Linked DNA regions of Homo sapiens: regions 1, 3 and 4 are each linked to region 2. Evidence: promoter capture Hi-C in 16 types of primary human blood cells and fetal thymus (Javierre and others, 2016). All regions are on one chromosome and are shown on one strand. The core of a region is centred on a gene start or on the middle of the fragment in contact, and the rest is flanking DNA. Distances in the headings are between cores, read along the strand shown.

The links. Contacts are between HindIII fragments. The CHiCAGO score rates a contact against its expected background, and 5 or more counts as called.
Region 1: a contact is called between a fragment that was not itself captured here and the fragment with the promoter of SDAD1 in region 2, in 1 of 17 cell types (total CD8 T cells). The highest score is 5.6, in total CD8 T cells.
Region 3: a fragment that was not itself captured here is called in contact with the fragment with the promoter of SDAD1 in region 2 in 1 of 17 cell types (M2 macrophages); the score reaches 6.9 in M2 macrophages.
Region 4: a contact is called between a fragment that was not itself captured here and the fragment with the promoter of SDAD1 in region 2, in 2 of 17 cell types (non-activated CD4 T cells and monocytes). The highest score is 6.2, in non-activated CD4 T cells.

What each region holds. Positions count from the first base shown.
Region 1 is chr4:76,177,524-76,181,114 of GRCh38, forward strand. SCARB2 (scavenger receptor class B member 2) reads right to left here. Exons shown (of 12, transcript NM_005506.4): 3 at 3,431-3,578; 4 at 1,994-2,182. Among named protein-coding and RNA genes, the nearest start is that of NUP54, 31 kb to the left of the region's middle. RefSeq lists a silencer at 2,545-2,604. The HindIII fragment of the contact is 2,727 bases long and covers 39-2,765 here.
Region 2 is chr4:75,989,681-75,993,216 of GRCh38, forward strand. It overlaps SDAD1 (SDA1 domain containing 1), which reads right to left and starts at 1,265. Exons shown (of 22, transcript NM_018115.4): 1 at 1,072-1,265. The coding sequence starts at 1,161. All of the region lies in intron 1 of SDAD1-AS1 (SDAD1 antisense RNA 1), which reads left to right. The HindIII fragment of the contact is 958 bases long and covers 1,136-2,093 here.
Region 3 is chr4:76,123,192-76,126,475 of GRCh38, forward strand. It overlaps NUP54 (nucleoporin 54), which reads right to left. Exons shown (of 12, transcript NM_017426.4): 9 at 1,458-1,565. Among named protein-coding and RNA genes, the nearest start is that of NUP54, 24 kb to the right of the region's middle. The HindIII fragment of the contact is 1,060 bases long and covers 1,187-2,246 here.
Region 4 is chr4:76,216,435-76,219,614 of GRCh38, forward strand. It overlaps a transcript of SCARB2 not described here and a transcript of FAM47E not described here. Among named protein-coding and RNA genes, the nearest start is that of SCARB2, 4.2 kb to the left of the region's middle. The HindIII fragment of the contact is 2,409 bases long and covers 577-2,985 here.

The sequences.
Region 1 (3,591 bases), core at 152-2,651, 190 kb after region 2:
AATTCCACTTCAAGGTATATACCCAATGTTCATATAAAAGCTTGTATGAACAAATATTCATAGCAGCACTTCTAATAATAGCCAAGAAGGAACACAACCCAAATGTCCATCAACTGATAAATGGATAAGCAAAATGTGGTATATCTACACAACGGAATATTCCTCAGTTATAAAAAGGAATGGAACACTGATACATGCTACAACATGGATGAACCCTGACAACATTACACTAAATTTAAAAAGCAGACACAGAAGGGCATATATTATATGACTCCATTTATATGAGATGTCCAGAATATGCAAATTCACAGAGCCAGAAAGTAGATTAGTGGTTGCCAGGGCCTGGGAGAGTAAGACAGGAATAGGAGTGACTGCTAAGAGAGTATGCAGTTTCTTTTTTGGGATAATGAAAATGTTCTGGAATTAGCAGTAATGGTTGCACAACCTTGTGACTATACTAAGGACTACTGAATTGTACATTTTAAAATGGTAAATGTTATAGTAAGTGAATTATTTCTCAATAATAACAAATTTAAAAGCCTAAGTCCAGGACCAGGACCAATTATACCAGAATAGCTACACTGGAAGAAGACGGTATTAATATAGCCCTATTTTCAATTAAGGTTTCTTCAATTGTATATTCTCTCCAAGTTATACTTCTTAAGGGCACATACAGACACTACATTCCTAAAATTCTTTATTTGGGCATGTAGCTATGATTTCTCAGAAATAGCACAGGTAGTAGCTCCTCTATAATAATAGGAGTGAACAATTGTTGAGTATAATATTCCTGGCTCTGTTCTAAAATTTTTGCATGAATCATCTCATGAAATCCTCACAACCACATAAGATAGTGTGGCTATCAGTCTGGTGAATTCAATGATGTAAAAACAAAAAAAGTGAGTTATATAATGCAAATTATCTGAGAAACAGTGAGATATTAGCAACAAGATCTACTTGGCTGATGGATTGAAGCCACTGGGAACAAAAGGGCCTCGAGGGAACCTTTGCATAATATCTCTCAGTAGGAGGCTCTCCTGAAATTATTTCTAGAAGGGAGGTTCAGTCAGGGCTTGACAGGAAATCTGTGCTTCCTCTGGTCCTGTGAAGCTGTATTCCTCTGAGACAGGACCCTCTAGGGAACTCCTGCCTGGTCTGCTTCTCCCGAATGATGCATTCAGAGTTGGTGAGGCCCTACTTTTAGGACTCCTGTCTCTCACACATATAATTTTTTAAAACTTGCTCACAATTCTATTTTAACAATTTCTACGTTTTATATAACCTTGAAGGCCCAGGGACACAATTATTGCTGTTTGCCATAAAAACTGGAATGCTACAGGATTACATGAAGAGGGTAAGACTCTTGAACAGGCAGAGCCAGAAAACAGCTACAAATTTAAAGCTGAGGAGACCCATCACAATCCCAGAGCACACCCCTAATCTAATCCTCTTCCTGGGGTTATTTTATCTTTTACCAACTTCCCAACTATCCACTGCACTCCAGGGTTTTTGTTTTTGTTTTTGTTTTTGTTTTTTTTTTGGCTTTTTTAGACAGAGTCTTGCTCTGTCACCCTGGCTGGAGTACAGTGGTGTAATTTCAGCTCACTGCAACCTCTGCCTCCTGGGTTCATGCAACTTACCTGCCTCAGTCTCCTGAGTAGGTGAGATTACAGGTGTACATCACCACAGCTGGCTAATTTTTGTATTTTTAGTAGAGATAGAGTTTTGCCATGTTGGCCAGGCTGGTCTCAAAGTCTTAACCTCAAATGATCCACCCACCTCGGTCTCCCAAAGTCCTGGAATTACAGGCATTAGCCACCGCACCCGGCCTCAAGTTTTTTTTCTTTCCAAAAAACACTCCATTTTTCACACACTCTATAAGATAACTTAACTCTAGGCAATTTCTAGAAGAAACTCAAAGTTAATCTGGCTTGGGGTGCCCCAACCCACTGTCAGCTAAAAAAAGAGGTTCTGAAAAGAAAAATCTACTTACCTCATAGAATAGGCCAAAATAGGGAGAGATATCGGGCCTGAAAACATGGATAAGGGACAAGATTTCATCTTTGTAGCCCCAGAGCAATTCGTCAACTGTGTGAGTCACAAAGAGCTTCTGCTGATAGGCTTTCAACATGGCCTCGATGATCTCCCTGAGGAAGTGCACCTGGGACCACTCTATGACAGTCTGCGGAGCAGAGGTATATTAAGACAGCAGCATCCCCTCCAAAGCACCTCCATCCACTCTCTCCTACTACCCCATAGCAAAGGGGGTTGGAAATATAAATGTAAAGGTTGAGATTAAATAGCTGAAAAATCAGGCAGTGAGCTCCTTTCTGGCTGCATATGGAAGACAAAGCCTCTTCTCTGTCCTTTCCCAGTACTGCATTTTGTAAGTGTAATATTTACAAAGAGACCATTTGCAGGCTCTGAGTTATCCAGACACCACAAAAGGGGAAAAGCTCTTGTAAACATGTGGGCATCTTTGGCCACAAGGTGGCGCTACCTTCCGCCTAAGCAGGGCCAGAGGCTCATTATAAACCCGACCTACACCCCTGGGACTAGGTGGCAGGGACCTCATACTGTCTAGGTCCTGGGTCCATCATCAGTGTCCAGCTGCATATGGAGCGGTCACCTAGGGGTTAGGGTGGGAGAGTCGGCAGGGGTTGGTGTAGGTGAATTAGAATGTTTACTGGGCCAGCCCAGGAACAGTGGTTCACGCCTGGAGTCCCTGGCCGACACAGGAGGATCCCTGGAGCCCAGGAGGTAGAAGCTTCAGTGAGCTGTGATGGAGCCACTGACTGCACTCCAGCCTGGGCGACAGAGCAAGACCCTGTCTCAAAAAAAATTAATAATAAATAAATTAATTTAATTTAAAAAAAAAGAAAGTCTCATGGGTCTCAGTATAGAATAGATGTAGAATAGGTGTCGTTATTAGGTAGAATTACCATTATAAACAGAGCCCACTGAAATCACAGTAGGCTGCCAGTCTATTGATTTCTGGTGTCAATTTATGAATTTTGAGAGTATAAAATCCAACATAAAAATCTGAAGTAAGAAATGGTATACAAATTTCATTGCTAGAATTTCTGAATGAAAACAAGGGGCAAATAAACATTTTTAAAATTATTAGCTACCAAAAAATCCTAGGGGCATATTTATTTGCACAATTGCTAATCCTGAACACCCAGGAAGAAATTATGAAAACAAATCCTAAAATCTGAATTTTGTCATCATTTGAAAAGACCTTATTTGATACATCTTAGAAAAAAGTCCAAGATGTACTTTAAAGAAAAGAAAAGAAGTATTTTTCTTTTTATATATGTATATTTCAACATAACTTAATGGCTCCTAAATGTAAAATCATAAAGAGCATTAACTTAGCTTTTTCCTTTCTTCCAAAATCCAACTTAATGGTATTAAAATGCCTACTTACCAATACAGGAATATTTAATGTTCTAATTAAGTCAATTTTAGGGTCTCCAACAGATTGGTCTCGTTCAAAAACATAGGCCTTGTTGCTAACAGCAGATATTGTTGTTCCATTATCTCCAAATTGAATATTTGCTTTGTTTCTGAGTTCCCTAAAAGAAAGAA
Region 2 (3,536 bases), core at 15-2,514:
TTTGCGAATGGCTATACAATGCTTTAAGCATCTCAAAGCCTTGCCTATGTTACTTAACTTCTTGTACTTGTTTCCTACTCTTTATTTCCACTACCTTGATCCTTGGAGAGGCTTTCTCTACTGGTGACCTAAGCCACTGAGATTGCCATGTGTTAAAAAGCACTCATAAAATACATATATGTGAAAATTTAGGGGAGGAGGGAAGTGAGAAGGGCAATGAAAAAATAAGTAATTGTGTTAGCCACTGAACAAATCACAATCTGGTAGAAGCACAAACATGTAATTGCAGCAAATGCCTAGCAGAGATACCTGTTTAATGCCCGTCTGATAAATGAGTGTCTGAAGGAAGCACCTGTCAGATTAATATATCAAAAACCACTTTCGTTTTGTCGGTACTTGGTTCAAACACCCCTAATGTTCACAACTTACATGAGGTCAGTACACAAAGCCCATCACAATGAGGGCCTAATTTTTCAACCTAATCTTTTCCCGAAGCAAATTCTGACATCCGAGTCATGCCAGTCTCCGGTAAGTTTGAATCCTGGCTTAACTAAATATACTAAGCTCCCGAGTCTGTCCGTTGTGCTTGAGAAACCCCCCCCCCCCCTTTCCTGGCACAGTCCAGGGTACACAGCCTGCTCTCAGAAACGGACGTCAATCGAAAGCATTCTAACATACGATTCATCAAAGGTTACCGACTAATTCAAGTTTGGGATTTCTGAAAAGAGGCTGAGAAATCCGCGTGGAAGTTGGTGGTTGGGTGCGGCCCATTTCTCTCTCCACTTCCGTGCGGACGAAGAAAAATATCTTAAAACAAAATGAGGTTTTAAAGGTGTTTCAGCGGCAGCAGGGCAGGTAGAAAATCCAAAGGGGCAACAGATTTTCAAGAGGTGGGGAACGAACCCTAAGGCATGTCCCGTCCCCAACCCCTTCTCTCCTCTGGAGGGACCCCTGAACCTAACAGAAGAATAGGCGGCGAGCCTGGATCCCAGCCCCACTCCATGCTTTCCCGCACCGGCGTCTCAACCATCCACTATCCGGCCTCTAGCGTCTGCCGCGCCGCACTCCCACCTCCTCGATGTAGGCCGGCGGGTCTCGCTTGATTAGATTCTGTAACTGCGGCAGGTTGCTGGGAAGCTTGTTGTTGTTTCTGTTGGACATTTTGGCTGCAGACAGACTTCGCGGCGAGCAGTTTTAAAAAAACTCAGACGGCCGGCACCCCGCAATCCCTGCCAGCTGCAGCTTGGACTCGTGTTTCCGGGTATGACCGGAAATAGCGCATGGGACTCTAGGCAGGCGACACCTTAGCGGTTCCTAAAGCGAGCTATGCTACGGAAGCCTCAGAGTGTCAAAATTACTCTCGTTGCCAAAATACTCTGTGGTGTATTGGAGAGCCAGCCACCGCCGACCCGCCCCTCGCCCTTGGGCATATGCTACTACTTAATATTGCCTTGCGTTTCTGAAAGGATCTGAAATGTAAATTTTTTCACGTGTGTTAGCATGTATCGTCATTCCGACACCCATATGAAGCACATAAATGAGGATTAATCGTTTATTTTTAATCCCGCAGTCTAAAATTAGAAACTGACGCCTGTAATCCCAGCACTTTGGGAGGCCAAGGCGGGCCTGAGGTCGGGAGTTCGAGACCGGCCTGATCCACATGGAGAAACCCCGTCTCTACTAAAATTACAAAATTAGTCGAGCGTGGTGGCGCATGCCTGTAATCCCAGCTACTAGGGAGGCTGAGGCAGGAGAATCGCTTGAACACAGGAGGCGGAGATTGCGGTAAGCCGAGATTGCACCATTTCACTCCAGCCTGGGCAACAAGAGCGAAACTCCGTATAAAAAACAAAACAAAACAAAACAAAACTGAAAAGAACCGTGGCGCTAGATAACACTATTCCCTCTTAGGAGGAAAAAAGAGCAACGAGGGTCATATAAGTTAATGTGTATGATTTTAGATATGTTTTTATTTTGGTTTTGGTTGTTTCAACTTAGCGTGACCCATACAAGGGAAAAGAGGGCTGGATAAAATGTGATCATGTTGACCATTAATAAATGCAATTAATCGTTAAAATTCAACCATCGTTATAAGCTTTGTAAGCACTCCTCAGTCAGAGTTTTTAATTCAGATCCTGGTAATTCGAAGAGGAGAATACATTTCTACAATCTCAAGGTGTAAAAAATCAATAAGGGTTGAATGAATGAGGTAGGGTGTTGTGAATTAGAGAGAGAGAAAAAAAAACCTAATTACCCACCCTGTGCCAGGCACTATTCCAAGCACTTGTATTAACTTATTTAATCCTCAGAACAACCCTCTAAAATAGGTGCTATTGTTATCTACATTTTACAGAAGAGGAAACAAGCTCAGGGAAGTTGACTGCCTCAATTCATAGCCTGTGAGGAAGATGAGATTTCAATCTAGACAGTCTTGATTGTAACTACATGAGAAAAAACATAGCCTAACAGCTGGTAGCTGGTTGCTGGTCTGGCAAAATAGCCAGACAATAGGGTTCTGCTTAACCAAAGCAATTTTATAGAACGCCAACCTCATCTGTGACGATGATAAAATGAGCCCCAAACAAAACAACTCTGTAATCACACCTGCACACAAAATAAAGAATGCTTCACAAACCATGTTATTCAGCTGCTTTTGGAGAATGACTTATTTATTAATTATCAAATCAGTTACCTGTGAAGTTAAGAAATAAATGTCAGCAATAAATCTTTTTTAAAAAGCATAGATTTAAATTAAAATTTTTTGGCTAGGTTGTTTTAGTGAGGGCAAAAAAAGTATTCTCAAAACAAAATCTGGCTAAGTGTGGTAGCTCAAGCCTGTAATCCCAGAACTTTGGGAAGCCAAGGTGGGAGAACCACTTGAGCTGGGTAGTTCAAGACTAGCCTGGGCAATATAGTGAGACCCCATCTCTACCAAAAAGTTGAAAAATCAGCCAGGCATGGTGGCACAGGCTTGTGGTCCAAGCTACTGAGGAGGCTGAAGCAAAAGGGTTGCTTGAGCCCAGGAGGTTAAGGTTGCAGTGAAGCACTGCACACCAGCCTGGGCAATACAGTGAGACCCTGTCTCAAAAAAAAAAAAAAAAGAAAAAAGACTGCGTACAGGTACTTGAAAATGTCTGGTGTATTGAAACAATAGCCATAAGTTTGGTGTGACTAAAGGCTGGGAGGGCAGGGTGCAGCAGGGAAAGAGCTGAGAAGGTTATATTGTCCTGATATGAAAGGCTTTAATTGCTATTCTAAGGAGGGCATATAGGTCAGTTCATTTTACCTCCAGCAGCATGGAAGGCAGGATTTGTTTTTGATAAATGAGAACTCTAAGACTAAGAGTGGCTAACTGAATATATATTTTTCAGATGTTAAATAATTTGGGTATCTAAGGCCAACATCTCTGCTTTCATGTGAAATTCCATCCTTTATTTTTAAAATTATAATGTATTTATTTTATAGCTTTATTAAGATATAATTGATGTACAACAAACTACCCAGTGAACAATTTGATAAGTTTTGACATATGTATG
Region 3 (3,284 bases), core at 467-2,966, 130 kb after region 2:
AGTAAATAGTATGGTATGCAAATTATCTTAAGCTGTGAAAAAAGAACAAATGAAGCTGTATAAATTATTCCTCAATTGTCTAGAATAATCAAAATAACACTGGATTAGCTCTTTTGTGGTTAGACAAAATTTGGCAATGAAACTATCTGTCCCTAAGGCCTTTTTCATGTTTCATCTTTCATTTTTCCAACTGTTTCTGTGGTATTTGTTTTCTTACTTCTCTGTAGATTTTGGTAATTTTCATTTTCATAGAAAAATCAAAATAAAACTTCCTCTGAGTTCCAAATCTGTTACCCTAAAGTACATGCAGCATCTTCTTTTTTTTTTCTCCTTTTTTCTGAGATGGAGTCTTGCTCTGTAGCCTAGGCTGGAGTGCAGTGGCGTGATCTCGGCTCACTGCAACCTCCGCCTCCCAGGTTCAAGCAATTCTCGTGCCTCAGCCTCCCAAGTAACTGGAACTACAGGCACAAGCAACCATGCCTGGCTGATTTTTTTGTATTTTAGTAGAGATGGGGTTTCACCGTGTTGCCCAGGCTGGTCTTGAACTCCTGAGCTCAGGCAATCCACTCACCTCGGCCTCCCAAAGTTCTAGGATTACAAGAGTGAGACACTGTGCCCGGCCCATGCAGTATCTTCTTATTCTGTTTTGTATATCTACGGTGATGCCTCTTTTCCCACTACTAATTTTGTATATTTTACTCTGTTTTTCCCTTCTTCCAGCTGATGAGATGCTTAGTAATTTTAACGGTCTTTTCAAAGAAACAGTTTTTTAATTTATTCTTTCCACTATTACATTTTTTAGTCTTTCACTAATTTCACATTTATCTTTCTTTCTTTTTAGTTTCTTTTGGCTTATCTTGATATTCCTTTTCTAATTTAACATGAGTACTAAGTTCCTTTATTTTTCACATTTGATTTTTTTAAATGAGAATTTTTTATGGCTGTAAGTTTTCCTCTGAGTACAGATTTTGCTGTTTCCCACTGGTTCTGGTATGTAATATTTCTGTTTTCATGATAGTTTATAATTTCAGTTGTTATTATTCTTTTAATTCCTCCTGTTAATTTGGAAATTCTATTGTTTTTCGACCATTATGGTTACACTCCTTTTTCTAGCACTCAAAAAATTTTCTGAACTATTTTATGAAACTATTTTATGAAATTTATGAGACATCAATAATCTCACAGAAGCTTCCCTTGCACTAAGATGCTTTATTTCTTCACTGCTTTCCCTCAAACTGTCACTAAAATACGAACTTTAGGATATTTTTATTCTCCTCACTCAAACCTATGAGACTTGTTTTCCAATTTCAAAGTTTTACTGAAAGAATTCGGTACTTGTAATTTCACATTATTCTTTCATTTTAGTATTTTTTTTTCTATTTTAAAAATCTATATTTAGTACATTATTTCACACACATAGTCTTATAAACACTGGGGGGGAAAATCCAAATTACTACCTGTAAAGTTCTATGGGAAAGATCCATGAGTTTCCTCTTGTATTGTGCAATTTTGGCTACAGATGTAGTTTGATTCTTTTGTAGCTCACTAATATCTTCAGATATGATCTGTTTAAAAAAAAATTGGGGGGGGGAGGGTTAATCAAATATCACAACTATTTATCAGTTACACCTGTATGGAAATTCTAATCTTGGGATAAGCCTGAGATTCATCTCTCAAAATATAAACTCTTTCCCTATAAATCTGTGCTTTATATTTCTTCCCTTTTTACATACCTAAAATTTTTTTAAAAGAATCATGCAAAGATATCTTTAGAGCTCTAGGAAATTTAGCAATGAGGCAATACATAGAAAAAATAAGCTGGGCGTGGTGGCTCACACCTGTAATCCCACCACTTTGGGAGGACGAGGCAGGCAAATTACTTAAGGTCAGGAGTTCAAGACCAGCCTGGCCAACATAGTGAAACCCCGTCTCTACTAAAAATACAAAGAAGTAGCTGGGTGTGGTGGCATGCACCTGTAATCCCAGCTACTTGGAAGGCTGATGCAGGAGAATCACTTAAACCTGGGGGATGGAGCCGAGATCGTGCCACTGCACTCCAGCCTGGGCAACAGAGTGAAACTCCATCTCACAGAAACAAAAAACAAAAAACAGAGTGAGACTCCATCACACACACACACACACACACACACACACACACACGGCTGGGCACAGTGGGTCACTCCTGTAATCCTAGCACTTTGGGAGGCCAAGGCAAGAGGAGTGCTTGAGACCAGGATTTTGAGACAAGCTTGGGCAAAATGGCAAGACCTTGTCTCTACAAAAAATATAAAAAATTAACCAGGTGTAGTGCTACATGCCTGTAATCCCAGCTCCTTAGGAGGCTGAGGTGGGAGGATCACTTGAGCCCAGGAGTTTGAGGTTGCAGTGAGCCGTGATCATGCCACTGCACTCCAGCATGGGCAAGAGGGAGAGGGAGAGGGGGAGAGGGGGAGAGGGGGAGAGGGAGAGAGGGGGAGAGAGGGAGAGAGGGAGAGGGAGAGAGGGAGAAGAGGGAGAAGAGGGAGAGAGGGGGAGAGAGAGGGAGAAGAGGGAGAGAGGGGGAGAGGGGGAGAGGGGGAGAGAGGGAGAGAGGGGGAGAGAGGGAGAGGGAGAGAGAGGGAGAAGAGGGAGAAAGGGGGAGAGAGGGAGAGAGGGAGAGAGGGGGAGGGGGAGGGAGAGAGAGAGACAGAGAGAGAGGGAGAGACCTATCTCAAAAGGAAAAAAAGAAAACACATACTTCAGAAATAATTAAGGAATCTGAAGTAACATGGAATACAGCCAACAACCAGGTCTGAGTGGAAAAAGTTAAGATGTGTAAGATGATATCTAGGGGGTGTCTTAATAGACAATTAGCCCTGTATCTAACTACTGACAGCAAGTACAGTACATTTCAACATTAACTGTTACAGAATACTTGGAGGGAGTAATCAGAGTGCAGAGGAAAAGGAATGATATTAATTATGCAGCAGGATACATTTTTATGCCTCTGGATCTTTGACTTGCTGTTTTACCTGACTGAAATCCCACTATTCTGCCTTAGGAAGTCTTAACCTTACAGGGTAGGTTAAAATCTCACTATTTTATTAAAGCATCCCAATCAGAATTAATCCCATAATTGTCTCTATCATAATTAATCATTCTATGCCACTGGCTTACATTTACATGTTACAAGAAAGAGGTTAAGATTGTGCAAGACATATTTTAGCACATCCACCTGCACACATCACCTTTTACAGAAACTTTCCAATGCCAGGCCATGCTGAAAGGACAAAATTAGGTGGCCA
Region 4 (3,180 bases), core at 531-3,030, 230 kb after region 2:
CCATTCTGGAGGGCAAACTCCATAGGTACCCACTCCTCCCATCCCTGGACCACCAATCCCAGGGTACTCTTCCTTTTCATTGTTCATTGAGGTCCCTTCTTCTCTCTTGTCTGGGCCACCAGGACAGTAACAGACTGTGGGGATGGAGAGATGGAGACAAATTTGATAAATGTATCTTAGTGTGGGAGAGTTTCTAAACAAGGGTTTACAGCTCAAGTTGCCCTCAGTTTACCTGCTCTCTGAGGATCTCACTCTGTTTCCACTATGTCAGGCGGTTAGTAAGCCACTTCCCCTTTAAAACTCTGGACAAGCCGAATGAAAATCTCTTTCTTGGTTCTTCTTAACACAGCTGACCAGGCTAGCATTTTTAAATGTGTTAACATAAGACAGAACAAAAAGGACCTAATTACAGAAAATATAAACAGCTTTTAAGAAAATAATGTATGTTCCCAAAATAGCAGTCTGTGATCCCACAGTAATCTCTGTCTTATCACCGAGGCTGGCATAACTTTTTAGCAGCTGGCCTGGCTGTCTTTCTGTTCAGTTCCATCTTCTCTACCCACAGCTATGTTCAGAAGCTTTTGACACAAAGCCCCAAAATCCAGATTTAAGTTTCTCAATGCCCTTTGGGACTTCCTCCTCATTTCTGATCTATAGGACATGTCTGCACCGCTAATTGGCATTGTTAGTTTATTGCCACAGGATCATCTCACCCTATGAGAGACTTTGCCCTCTCATCCAGGGAGTAGCCCCTGCTTGCCAGCCACTAATAACCCTGAACACACTCTGGAGGGGCAGACAGCTTGGGAAGGGGTTACTGCTCCCAGAGTTTAGATGAGGAGGCTGATGCCAGGGCAGGGAGACAATCAGGACTCTTCCTGGTGACTTCTCTGCTATGGTTTGGATTTGTGTTCCCTCCAAATCTCATGTTGAAATTTGATCCCCAGTGTTGGAGGTGGGGCCTAATGGGAGGTGTTTGGGTCCTGAGGAGAGATTGTTCATGAATAGATTAATGCCTCCCTCAGGCATGAGTGAGTTGTCAGAGAGCGGGTTGTTGAAAAGAGCTGGCACCTCCTCCTTCTCTCTCTAGCTTCCTCTCTGCCCATGTGCCTCACACAGGTGTGCTCCCTTTCTGCCTTCCCAGGAGTGGAAGCAGCCTGAGGCCCTCATCCAATGCAGATGTCTGTGCCGTGCGTCTTGTCCAGCCTGCAGAACCATGAGCCAAATAAACCTCTTTTCACTACCCAATCTCAGGTATTGTTATAGCAACACAAACAGACAAGGGCGGAAAATGAGGAGACTGATGCTGTGGCAAGGAGATACGGTGATCTCTCTATACCTAAAATCAGAAGACTTTATCTGAGAAGAACAAGTACACTTAATGAATGATTGCTGGTGCCTGTTGAAATTATGCAATCATTCGGGACTTAGAAAAAGAGCTTTCTTCACAGACTCTAAGGGCTATCGAGGGGAAGCAAGAGGGCTCTTTGGGCTCTACCTTAAATTTAGAATGTTGATACTATACTCAAATGAGTTTAATGATGTAGTCATTGTATACTTTTATGTTCAAAGTGTTAATGTGTTAAATATAAACATTTAAAATACACCACAGGCCGGGCCAGGTGGCTCATGCCTGTAATCCCAGCATTTTGGGAAGCCAAGGCAGGAGAATCACTTGATCCCAGGAGTTTGAATGGAAATGGCCCTAGGCCTTGCCTACTTTGGGACAGGTCAGGCTCCAAGATACTTCTAAAAGTCTTGGCTTTCTTCTTATTGAAGGTGATCTATAAAATGTACCATCACACCCTAGTGATTTGACATATGTTATTCCTAAATGTTTGTGGGGCATCCTAAATCCTGAGCAATACAGCCTCCATAAGAAAAAATTACTCTCTCCTCCCTCCTCCCCTACCCATCATTCCAAAGTTCTTACATTACAGAACTGCTTTATGCAGATAGGCTTACATATCCCAGAGGAGAGCTCATATACCATTTATATTATATCACATGCACCTGTGCCAGGCCACAGGGACTCTCTGTGAAGTTACCCATGTCCCTGTCTACCGCCTCCTCCGATCAAGAAGACCTCATGGCTTCCTCATTATCATCTTTGCACCCCCAACTAGGGGAATCTTTTCCAGTTTGTTTTGGTTTGGTTTGGTTTTTATTTTGTTTGGGGTTATGGGAAAATGAGAATTCCCCTCTTCAAATTCTTATTTTCCTTTTTGTTCCCCTAATAATGCAGACTTATTGAAACACGGAACTAGGAGGAGATATCCTATTCACCTTTTTCTCTTCCCTTTCCTGAAAACACAAGCGTAGTGTTGTCTAACTAATAGAATGTGTGGTTGGAGGGCGAGGAGTCAGGAGATCAAAGAGGAGAAAAATATAGTGGGCAAAAAGGGTGAATATGTCAGCAATATTATCTGCTACTTGTACATAGTACTTGTACAAGCACTATGCTAGACAGTGGGCTTGCATTACTTCATTTACTCCTTACAATGCCCTATGATGTAGACATTCTATTTTAAGGATAAGGAAACTGAGGCACACAGAGATTGACTAAGTAGTCCAATGTTACTGGCCAGTAGGAAGCAAAGGTATTACTAAATCCAAGTCAGTCAGATGCTTTAGCCAGGCTCTTAACCCCTTAGCCACTGCTTGGGACTTCTGGCCTCATGCTTATTAAGAGTAAAAGGAAAGCAGTGAAAATTGCAAAAAATAAAAATAAAAATAAGCAATGGCACTGGAATACTCATGGTGACCTGGGCATCCAGGAGGGGCACAGGTTGGAATTAGTGTGTGTGGGAGACAATGCCTCTGCCTGAACCTGATGTTGAACTAGAATGGAGAGCCAGGAAGGAGTTGCCAGTCCGGTGGCCAAAAATATACTTTGCAATATATCTAATGTATATTCTGACGTGAAATGTATTCTAGTCTGTTCTCACTTGAGGTACTTTGATGGTACTTTCTAGAAGCAAATGAAGCTTGGGTTGGGTTTAAACTCACTGTGGCAAAGCCAGCATATTGTGAAATATCAAGGCTGTCTGATTTCCTGCATGTTGTGAAATCAGGGCTAAATAAACAACACGAGAGGTCACAGTTATTCTTTAATGATGTGTTCCATGGGGAGAAGCTGTATAAACGAGAAAGCCAGGTTTACTCAGCATCTCTTTCTGA